3 separate regions of the Homo sapiens genome follow, and all the other regions are linked to region 1. The links are contacts of gene promoters, found by promoter capture Hi-C in human tissues and cell types (Jung and others, 2019). All regions are on one chromosome and are shown on one strand. The core of a region is centred on a gene start or on the middle of the fragment in contact, and the rest is flanking DNA. Distances in the headings are between cores, read along the strand shown. Region 1 holds the start of NKX2-2 (NK2 homeobox 2). Region 2 has its middle 16 kb from the start of INSM1. Region 3 holds the start of FOXA2 (forkhead box A2).

Region 1 (3,760 bases), core at 899-3,398:
GAAGAGATAGTCCATTGAAAAGGGTTGAATGCCATGACAACTAGGAACAACCTTAGATTTATTCCAAACAGTTAGGACACATTGAAAGAGAGCGTCAATCATGTATTATTTCGCCACTGAAATAAATGCAAAAACCGAGCCGGGACAAAGGCTTCCAACGGGAGCGGGACATTTGTCTACATTTCGCTCATTGTCCGCAGCTTAGCAATCGGTTTGTATTTGTGTTTGCCCGGGTCCGACCACCCAGGACGCGCCGACGAGGGGCTTGCTCTAACCTGGGCCATTGTCACCCACGTCACATACTGGGGGCGAGGCAGCTAGGGCTGCAGAAAGCCGCCGAGCGGCTCGGGGAGAGGTGCCCTCACCCAGCGCTGGCAACCCGGGGGCAGCTGGGGCGCGGCGGCGTCCGCTGCAGCTGCGCGCGAGGAGGACCCGGTGCCCGCGCGCTCAGCTTGGCCCGCGCGGAGGAGCCCAGGTTGTGGGAAGACTAGACCTGGACCCCGCAGGGGTGGCCTTCTGTGCCCCTCCCCGCCCCCAGACAAAGCTCCTTCCTGACACTCCTCTGGGGCGAACGAGCATCAGGTAGCCAATCTACACCCCTGCACCCCCCCCCCAAAAAAGTTTTAACTAGAAGAAGGGGTGGCAAATGCGGCGTGGTCTTTTCCAACCCCAGCGCCGAGGAGGAAGTGCAAGTCCCGGGAAAGTTCAGTTCCCAGAGCCGAGAGTGGCTGGAAACTTCACACTAACCTGACTTAACCTGGAAACGTGGAGCGCGTACTCCGAACGCACCCAAGGCGTCCAAAAAGAGACCACACTAAAGAACTCGCGTGGGAGAAGAAAACTGGGGAGAAAACGAGGCATCGTCGGGCCACCCAGCGACCCCCCTCCCCCGCAGCTTTCTGGGTCTTCACCCAGGCTGGAGACACAACCCCCACCCCCACCCCCGCAATCCCGCCCCGCCGCCTTCCCGCTGCTCCACCTCTAGCCAGAGGCTGGAGAGGGAGGGGGCCGGAGAGGGAGGGATAATAGAGGGCAGGAAAGAGCAGGGCCGTCTGCCCTTTCCTCCACCCGGGGAAAGAGGCCCGCAGAGCCCAGAGGCAGCAGGGCCAGGGTCCGACCCCAGACGAAGTTGGAGCTCCTCACTCTTACCCCGCCCTCCCCGGGACCGCCCGCAAAGCAGAAAGTGAACTGCGCGTCCTCCTTGGCCGCAGAGAGGTGGAGGCGGGGGGTTGGGGGTGGGAGGTGGGGGGAGGCGGAGTGAAGGAAATAAATGAGTCTTTAGCAAATAAAGGGCGGCTGGAAGGGGGCGGGTCGCTTGGTGGTGGCTCTGGCCGGCCCGGAGCGGAGCTCTCTCCTGGGTTTTGGGCTCTCTCGCGGTTAACTGGAATCAATTACTTGCCTTGTCATTTCTAGCACTCATCCTTAAGCCTCAACCAAAATATTGACCTAGGAGGCTTACAGAAGTTGGGCTCTTGCCATTTGAACCGGATCTTGTTTAGGCAACCACCAACGATGGAAAGGAGAGATTTCCGCAGCTCGGCCTTCGCCCCCTCCCCCTTTTCCAAAGGCGCCACAAATCGCCAATTTTCCGGCTTGCCGGGGGTGGGCGCGCGGGGGCGGGGAGGTAGGAACCGGTGAATGTTAAAGAGGATTTTTTCCCTCCTCCTGGTTTCTGTTTTGTTTTCTCCCCTCCTCCTCCCCACCCCCACCTTTTTTAAGATGCAATTTGTTAAAACGGCCCTTTCAAGTGTGTGGACTCGCGAGCGACGCGGTGGCCCTTTGTATGTAAATACTGGGTTTAAAAAAAAAAAGGCTCGCCCCGTCTTTGCAATTAATTGACACGTTACACCTCTCATCTTGCTCTAGAGGGCCGTTGGCTGGGAGCGCGGAGCTCCCCAAAACCCACAATTTCACATCTGCAAATACTGTCTTCATCCACTTGACTCCCAAGACCCGCCCACACGTGGCCAACCTTTGCGTTTTTAATGTCTCTTCCCCCTTTTTTCCACCCTTCTCCCGCTCCCTCTCTCGCTCCCCCTCCCTCCCTCTTTCTTTCCCTCCCTCCCTCTCTTTCTCCCCCTCTCCCCGCCTCCCCAGGTTCGTGAGTGGAGCCCAGCCTTATATGGACTGATCGCTCGGGCAATGGCCCATTTTTTCCTCGCCACCAGCCGCCACCGCGCGCCGAGCGGCCGCCGGAGCCCGAGCTGACGCCGCCTTGGCACCCCTCCTGGAGTTAGAAACTAAGGCCGGGGCCCGCGGCGCTCGGCGCGCAGGCCGCCCGGCTTCCTGCGTCCATTTCCGCGTGCTTTCAAAGAAGACAGAGAGAGGCACTGGGTTGGGCTTCATTTTTTTCCTCCCCATCCCCAGTTTCTTTCTCTTTTTAAAAATAATAATTATCCCAATAATTAAAGCCAATTCCCCCCTCCCCTCCCCCAGTCCCTCCCCCCAACTCCCCCCTCCCCCGCCCGCCGGGGCAGGGGAGCGCCACGAATTGACCAAGTGAAGCTACAACTTTGCGACATAAATTTTGGGGTCTCGAACCATGTCGCTGACCAACACAAAGACGGGGTTTTCGGTCAAGGACATCTTAGACCTGCCGGACACCAACGATGAGGAGGGCTCTGTGGCCGAAGGTCCGGAGGAAGAGAACGAGGGGCCCGAGCCAGCCAAGAGGGCCGGGCCGCTGGGGCAGGGCGCCCTGGACGCGGTGCAGAGCCTGCCCCTGAAGAACCCCTTCTACGACAGCAGCGACAACCCGTACACGCGCTGGCTGGCCAGCACCGAGGGCCTTCAGTACTCCCGTAAGTAGCAAAACTTGGCTGCCGAGGCCGTGGTCCCCTCCATTCCTGCAGCCGCAGCCCGGGTTGGACGCTGGGAGTGAAAGGGGAAGGGGCCATGTAAGCCCGGACCCCCTCACTCGGATCCGTAGAAAGATTTTTAACACCTGTATAGGATGTCCTCTGCCCTCCTCTTCAAGCCTCCTTAGTTCCGGGAAAGAACTTGGTCTCCAAAATTTTTTTCAATGCGAGAAGTTAAGGAGAAAGAGGGAGAAGGGCTATACCTCCCAGGGGCTGGTATATGATGTCAACCCGGACCGATGGCTCCAGCCGCAGCCCCCGGACTCCGGCCGCTGGGAGGGACTGGCCTGGCGCCCTGGAGGTAGCCAGCGAGCCTCGTCCGGGTACGGGTGGAGGGTGGGGAGGCTTCGGGTGGCCCGGGTATAAATAGCTCACCCTGCCCCCTGCGCGATCATAGAGGACGCTTTGTGCAGTGCAGGGGGTGTCTAGAAGGCCCGAAAGCAGAAACGAAAGCCCCCAAAAACCTGCCTTAAATGGCCGAGCCGATCAATGCTGGGATTGTGGGGTATTTCTTTTAAAAATCTGCCCACGTCTCGCCGGAGAGGAAACCGCTTAAGGGCGCCGGAGCCCTTAACCCGCGATGATCTTCAGTGCCACTTCCCCCCCCAAATTCTCACCCACACTATGTGAGCCCCTTGAAAGGCGAGCCCCTAGCCCCCACTCCTACGGATTTCCCTCTTTACCCTGGGAGGTCCCGACGTCTTCGTCAGGCGTAGAGGAAGGCAGGGGTCATGGCAAAGGCAGCGGGGCTGGGCTGCCAGGCGCGGAGGTCCAGGGTCGCACGGAGGATCCAGGGTGCTCCGAGTCTGGTGCAGGCTGCGCGCGGCCTCCAGACGCCTGACGCGCTTCTCTCTCCCCCTCCCCCCAGTGCACGGTCTGGCTGCCGGGGCGCCCCCTCAGGA
Region 2 (3,760 bases), core at 392-2,891, 1.1 Mb after region 1:
CCTCAGGGCCTGGAAATTGGAGTGTGCTTCTCACTGAGGGCGTGAGGTGGGAAGGGGCTTGCTATTATAGATCCTGAAAGGATCTTTTTGACTTTAGAAAATAGCCTGGCAAAGAAAAGCTTTTTTCCGTGAATACTCAGGGACTGCATTATGCCCCTCAGATGATAGAGGAGAGTACTTTTGATCAATATTCCCTAAGAAATGGCCGCTGGGCTAAGTGCAGAGGGCCTCAATAGCAGTCTCCCTCCCGCCCGACCTGCAGAGCGCCTGCGGCAAATGTCTCGGAGCAGTGGGAACCAGCAAGGGCGGTACATTAATGGTATCATCTTCTCCTTTTAAAAAAATGTCACCCCATTTTGTCCTCCATGTTGATGGCTGATTATGGGCCCAGTGGAAACAGTTATTTCTATAGCTTTCTTTGGGGAAATCTTGGATCTTCGTTTCAGGCACCAGGAAAAGTGACCCCCTGGAACAGTTTCAACCTAAAGGCGAGAGTAAAATGCTGGTGGGAAAACTCACATCAGGAGCTTCTTTTAATCAAGGAAGGTTTTTTTTTTCTTTTTTTTACTAATGATCAAGATTTTAATGAAATAGCCAAAGTACAAATTTGTATATTACATCGGGTGTTCTATACTTTTTTCTCTTAAAAATAATGATCTGCCTCTATTCCAACCCCCATCTCCCTAAGACTGATAAGCAGGTTATTCAAAAGAACATTCTCAGCTGGGAGCAGTGGCTCATGCCTGAATCCTGCATTTTGGGAGGCTAAAGCGGATGGATCACTTGAGGTCAGGAGTTCGAGACCAGCCTGGCCAACATGGTGAAACTGTCTCTACTAAAAATACAAAAATTAGCAGGGCGTGGTGGCTCATGCCTGTAGTCCCAACTACTCGGGACGCTGAGGCAGGAGAATCGCTCAAACCCGGGAGGCGGAGGTTGCGGTGAGCTGAGACTGCACCACTGCATTCCAGCCCGGGTGACAGAGTGAAACTCTGTCTCCAAAAAAAAAAAAAGGAACATTCTTTCCAGATTAATGCAAAGACATAGAAATAGCATCATACAATACACATTATTCTACAACATCCTTGTTAAACTTTACAGTGTCATAGGCACCCCTCCATCTAGTTTATCATTTTCCGTAGTTGCATTTTATTCCTTAATACAGATGTACCTTAATTTACTCAGCCCATCTGTGCATTAAGGTGGCTTCCAGTGTTTGTCATAACAAAGACACCTGTAATAAACACCAGCACGCCTATATCCTGACACACTGCTGCTTTTATTTCTGTATGATAAATTTCCAAAAAAAAATGAAATTACTGAGTCAGAGAGTATATGTCATTGTTATGGACTGAATGTTTGTGTCTTCCCGAAACCCATATGTTGAAGCCCTAACCCCCAGTGTTTACTAGGAGGTGGGATCTTTGGGAAGTGACTGGGTTGCGATGAGGTCCTGGGGATGGGGTCTCCATGGTGGGATTAGTGCTCTTAGAAGAAGAGAGACCAGAGCTTCTCTCTCTCTGCCATGTGAGGACACAGGGAGGAGGCTGCTGTCTGCAAGCCAGGAAGGAGGTCTTCACTGGAGAACCAAATCAGCCCACTCCTTGATCTTAGACTTTCCAGCCTCCAGAACTGTGAAAGATAAATTCCTGTTGTTCACGCCATTCCTATTATTTTAAGTTTAAGCCACTCAGTCTATGGTATTTTGTTAACGGCAGCACAAGCTAACTGAGACAGTCATTATAGTCCTAATAGATTGATTATTTGACCACTTTTGAATTCTATAAAGTCGGTTTTGGAGTTATATTTAAAAATGAAGCTAGGACCCATGTTTTCCCATGTTTGTATAGGATAACTCAGTAAATTACCCAACAGCTTAAGAAAAGAAAAGAAAAATTTTAAGGGGCACCCAGGAAAAAGGCATAATTTCAGCCATGACAAAACGAGGCATTTGTTGACCAAAGTGAGGACTCCCAATCAGTGTGCCCACACCGTATGTCTTTTCATGATAATGTTCCAAAGAATTTCTCAATTTTGAAGAAATTTTTGAAAATACTAACATAAATGCATCAAAATACACCACAAATTCACCTTGTGTCATAGATTGGAGAGGAACGTGGTCCTAGGAATCAGTGTTGGCTTCCGATTCCACCTGCACACACTCTTGAGCGGCCATTCCCTAGTCATTCTGGCTCATTTCCTCACCTGGGACTTGGGGCGATAGTACTGATTGTGGTAGCCAACCTCAAGGATTGCCCCAGCAATCATCACCTCCTGGAATTCATACCTATGCGTGGTCCTTTACATGCTGATTCAGAGATGACCTGTGGGACCAATGGAACTCAGCAAAAGTGATATATCTTCCAAGATTAGTCATAAAGGTATTACAGTTTCCACTTTGGTCTCCTGGATGGCTTGCTTTGGAGAGAGCCACCATGCTGTCAGGACACTCAAGCAGTGCTATAGAGACCAGCATCCATGTGAGGGAGCCATCTTGGAAATAGATCCTCCAGCCCCAATCAACCCTTCACTTGACTGCAGCCCCAGTGGAAAACTCAGTGTAACTTCATGAAGGACCCCAAGCCAGAACCACCAAGCCAGGCTGCTACTGAATTCCTGACCCACACAAATAATTAGATATAATAAATCTCTGTTGTTGTTGTAAATGCTCAGTTTTGGGGAGATCTGTTGTTACACAGTCATAGTGCTTGGGACATTGACCTAATGGTTGTTTTCAAGACAATGTACAGAAGGCATTTACATACAACAGTGCATTCTACTAGTGAACCGAGACCACCTCATTTTGTGGAGGGCTACATCAAGGAGCCAGACACCTGGGTTCTGCTCTCTATGTCTTAGATGAAGAGCCTTCTGATTGAGGGCAAGGCATTCAACATTCAGACTTTTCTTAATATACAAATCAATGAATCATAATCTATAAAGGATTGTTGTGAAGGCCAAATGGAAAAATTCACATGCAGGCCGGGCATAGTGGCTCACGCATGTAATCCTAACACTGTAGGAGGCCAAGGTGGGAGAATCACCTGAGCCCGGCGGTTCGAGACCAGCCTGGGCAACAAAGTGAGACCCCCCCCACCCATCGCTACAAAAAATAAAACATTAGCTGGGCATGGTGGTACGTACCTGTGGTCCCAGCTGTAGGGGAGGCTGAGGTGGGAGGATTGCTTGAGGCCCAGAGGTCAAGGCTACAGTGAACCATGTTCATACCACTGCACTCCAGTCTGGGTGACAGAGTGAGACCCTGGAGCAAAAATAAAAATTCACACTCAGGCAGTCTAAAAGCCAGAGAGCACTGAAAAACTGATATCAGGTGTGTTCCTGATATCAGTTATCTATTGCTAATGAATCAGTAATAAATATCAGTTGTCTATTGCTACATAACAAATCACCCCAAAACTCAGTGGCTAAAAACAACCACTATCATTTTATTACAGTCTCACACAGCTCTGGGGGGTGAGCAGGCCCAGCTGGGCTGTTCCCACCTGGGCTGTCTCATGCAAATGTTAGGGTAGAGGGGGCTGGCATCATCTTAGGGGCTCACCTGCTCCCCCAAATGTCTGGGGCTTGGTCGTTGACTGAGATCTTAGCTCGGCCTCAGTAGAACACCTAAATGTGGACTCTGTGTGTAGCTTGAGCTTGGCCTTTTCTAGCCTAGTCTCAGAAGTCACACAGTGTCACTTCTACTGCTTTTTATTTGAGAAAGCGTCACAAAGGCCCTCTTAGTTTTGGAGGGGGCAGT
Region 3 (3,760 bases), core at 684-3,183, 1.1 Mb before region 1:
AGCTTTGAAAAATTGCTCATTCTTTGAGCTCCAATGCTTACTCCTCTTTCCCTGCCCTCGGTGGAGTGATGAAGTTGCTCCCATCCACGCGCTAGGTGGGACCCCGTGGGAAATGCTGGGGATCTAGCCCCTCTGACTCCGCTGCGCACACCTCCACGTTCACTACGTAGCCGTACACACCATCAAGCTCCTTCCCTGGCGCACCGGGCTGGCCTGCCCCTCGTGGGAGCCTTCAGCACTCGGGGGACCGATAGGCACGGCTTCCGCGGAGATACAGACCTTGAATTTGTGGGAGAATCCCGCCCTGGCGCTCACTCGGCGGGCTTATTAATGCCCTCTTTATGAAGTGTCCAAACCATCTGCATTTCAGCAGCAAAAGATGCTGCCGGCGGCTTCCTTCTGTGTCCCAAACCGTGCAGACCTGAGAGTCCTGGGGTTAGGGAAGTGGTTCCCCTGTGCCTACTGCTACCTCCTCGCTTGCCTTCCAGCCTCACCCTTACTCAAGCTTCAATGCGAAGCTCCGTGTCTGCCATCTCGCCTGTCTTCTGCCACCATCGCCCCCAATTTTGGACAGGTGGGCTGGATGCCCACTAGTTCCTATGCATTCTCTGTGTCTGAGGGGGTGGGTACAGGGCTGGATCCCCAAGGTCCAGCCAGGTTTTCAGAACCAAGAAAGAGCCTCCACATCCAAACACCTGCAATATCCCCCCACTCCAAATCTGGGCTCACAGGCTAACCCAGAACAGAAGACAATTTTTGAACCCAAGAGCTGCTGGGGAAATAAAAGTATACGATTGCTGGAGTTTCTAATTTCTATTAAGCAGTCCCTCTGGAAGACAGAGAGGACAGAGACGCTCTTGAAGTCAACTCCATATGCCCCATCATTGATTCCTGGATTCTTCTCTCCTCACCCCTCCCTCCCCACCTCCTGCCCTGTTTGTTTTAGTTACGAAATGCTGTGGGCACCTCGGTTGTGACTGAAAAGTAACCTTGAAACACGCCGGCCTGAATATCAGAGACAAATCTCAGCCTCCCAACCGTCGGCCGCTGCTAGAGGGGCTGCTTGCGCCAGGCGCCGGCCGCCCCACTGCGGGTCCCTGGCGGCCGGTGTCTGAGGAGTCGGAGAGCCGAGGCGGCCAGACCGTGCGCCCCGCGCTTCTCCCGAGGCCGTTCCGGGTCTGAACTGTAACAGGGAGGGGCCTCGCAGGAGCAGCAGCGGGCGAGTTAAAGGTGTGTACGTAGTTTTTCTAAATAGGACAGCGCTTTGCAAATTGGCTGTCATGGACTTGCTGTTTTGACAGAGAATGAGCACTGAGAGCGAAGAAACCCGGCATAAATAAATCCGGCTTTCATAGGGATCTGCCGGGCACTGAGGCTGGACGCGCCCTCCGACAGGCGCACCGGGCGCCCGGCGCGATGAGACGGGGCGGGGGCTGGAGGCCGGAGCCGCCCCAGAGGGTGGTTTCCTCCCAGGTCCCTCCTTCCTCAGGGGACTCGCTGTGGACCCGGGAGGAAAGGGGGCTCGACCAGGGATCCCGCGTGCCCGATCGCCCGCCCAGCCCGCTCCCCTGGCCCGCCCAGGAGTGCGGGGCGCCGCGGCGGTGGGGCGGACGGCAGGCGCTGAGGGGCAGGTGCGGAGCGCCGGCTGCGGCTACCTCTCACCTAGGTGTGAGCTGATTATTCAAATGGGCTGCCCCGGGTCTGGGGATTGGAGGCCCGCGCCAGCGCGCCGCGCTATATCACCAGCCTCCCACGTCACTGCGGCACTTGTCCGCTCCGCGGTCCACACCTCCTCCTCCTCCTCCTCCTCCTCCTCCTCCTCCTCCTCCTCCACCACCACCACCGCCTCCTCCTCCTCCTTCCTCCTCCTCCTCCCCACCCCCCCACTAGCCCCCGCGCCGCGCGCTTCCCGCCGCCTCGGGGCAGCTCGGCACTGCCAACCTCAGCCGCCACCCGGCAGCCCGTGAGCGCGGCGGCGGCGGGTGCTCCCTACCGCGGGGCGCTGGCCTGGGCCTCCTCCGCTCCTCGCCCCCCCCCACCTCCCGCCCACTTCCAACTACCGCCTCCGGCCTGCCCAGGGAGAGAGAGGGAGTGGAGCCCAGGGAGAGGGAGCGCGAGAGAGGGAGGGAGGAGGGGACGGTGCTTTGGCTGACTTTTTTTTAAAAGAGGGTGGGGGTGGGGGGTGATTGCTGGTCGTTTGTTGTGGCTGTTAAATTTTAAACTGCCATGCACTCGGCTTCCAGTATGCTGGGAGCGGTGAAGATGGAAGGGCACGAGCCGTCCGACTGGAGCAGCTACTATGCAGAGCCCGAGGTAAGCGCTCGTCTTTTCCAGGGGGAAGTGGAGCGGCGGCGCTCGCTCCTTCCCCAACCTCAGGACCGCTTCCCTCGCTGGCACCCCCCCACCCCGCCCCACAACCCCAGCCTTTCTGGGCAGCCGCCTTTTCCGCCCTCCTTGGAATCAAATGGGTCTCTTTTTTATACGACACACTGTTAGCCTTGAGATAATATTAACTTTGTGATCAAATATTGACTTGCGGCGCCTCCAAATCCTCTTCGTGGCCGAGCCACGCACTATCCTAACAGAGTTATGTTTGGCAGCGCGCGGCTGGGGAGGGGTGGGAGGTCGGCCGGCGAGGGGGTGGGGAGCTGAGGAGGAGAAGATGGGTAGGAGTTGGGGGCTGAAGTGGAGGCAGAGTCAAAGACTAGTGGACAAAGAGAAAGAAAGTTTTTGCCTGCAAAGCTCAGCCGCGTGTGGTTCAGGTCTCGGTTCTTTCCCTATTGCCCCGTTCAGTGCCTCCAGCCGCCCCCGCACTCCGCACAGGCACTGCCTTGCAGTTTCCCTGGGACAAGGGAGGGGGTCCCTGGAGGGAGACCGGACAGAGGGGGCCCGGGACAGTCTTCGCTGGAGGCAGCCCGAGGCGCCCCGCGCGTTGTCCCGCAGGTTGCTTGCTGCGACCGGAGGTGGCGTCCGGGGACTTCGGGCCTCGGCGCCAGCTCAGTATGCTGGTGGGAGAGTTTGGGGAGACTCTGGGGTAGGGGAATGTATTTGGGGTGCTGGCTTGGGAGTACTCCATGGGACCCCTGTTCTAGAATCTGGGCGAGGTGGAGAAGGGCTAGGAACGGGCCACATGCCCAAGCAGCAATCCGCTCGCCACCTTCCCAAGGGCGATCGATCATGACTCTCCCTGAATGAAACAGACTCGGAGTCCGGAGACTGGGCCATCGGGGACGAAAGGGCTCCCCGGAGGCCTCCCCGGACGCGGAGGCCTGGGCGGTGGGTGGGAGGTCTGGGCACCCTCCAGCCGCGGTGCTAACGCTGTCGCCTCCCTCCCGGGGCTCTGTCCGCAGGGCTACTCCTCCGTGAGCAACATGAACGCCGGCCTGGGGATGAACGGCATGAACACGTACATGAGCATGTCGGCGGCCGCCATGGGCAGCGGCTCGGGCAACATGAGCGCGGGCTCCATGAACATGTCGTCGTACGTGGGCGCTGGCATGAGCCCGTCCCTGGCGGGGATGTCCCCCGGCGCGGGCGCCATGGCGGGCATGGGCGGCTCGGCCGGGGCGGCCGGCGTGGCGGGCATGGGGCCGCACTTGAGTCCCAGCCTGAGCCCGCTCGGGGGGCAGGCGGCCGGGGCCATGGGCGGCCTGGCCCCCTACGCCAACATGAACTCCATGAGCCCCATGTACGGGCAGGCGGGCCTGAGCCGCGCCCGCGACCCCAAGACCTACAGGCGCAGCTACACGCACGCAAAGCC

Evidence for each region. Contacts are between HindIII fragments. The study calls those that stand out against the background at their distance.
Region 2: a fragment that was not itself captured here is called in contact with the fragment with the promoter of NKX2-2 in region 1 in 1 of the 25 tissues and cell types used here (spleen).
Region 3: a contact is called between the fragment with the promoter of FOXA2 here and the fragment with the promoter of NKX2-2 in region 1, in 1 of the 25 tissues and cell types used here (H1 embryonic stem cells).

What each region holds. Positions count from the first base shown.
Region 1 is chr20:21,512,452-21,516,211 of GRCh38, reverse strand. It overlaps NKX2-2 (NK2 homeobox 2), which reads left to right and starts at 2,148. Exons shown (of 2, transcript NM_002509.4): 1 at 2,148-2,801; 2 at 3,727-3,760. The coding sequence starts at 2,543. RefSeq lists an enhancer at 1-451. The HindIII fragment of the contact is 15,862 bases long and covers 1-3,760 here.
Region 2 is chr20:20,381,959-20,385,718 of GRCh38, reverse strand. No RefSeq gene overlaps it. Among named protein-coding and RNA genes, the nearest start is that of INSM1, 16 kb to the right of the region's middle. The HindIII fragment of the contact is 6,215 bases long and covers 1-3,760 here.
Region 3 is chr20:22,582,745-22,586,504 of GRCh38, reverse strand. FOXA2 (forkhead box A2) reads left to right here and starts at 1,933. Exons shown (of 2, transcript NM_021784.5): 1 at 1,933-2,313; 2 at 3,351-3,760. The coding sequence starts at 2,227. RefSeq lists enhancers at 1-392, 1,148-1,903, 3,328-3,760. The HindIII fragment of the contact is 10,630 bases long and covers 255-3,760 here.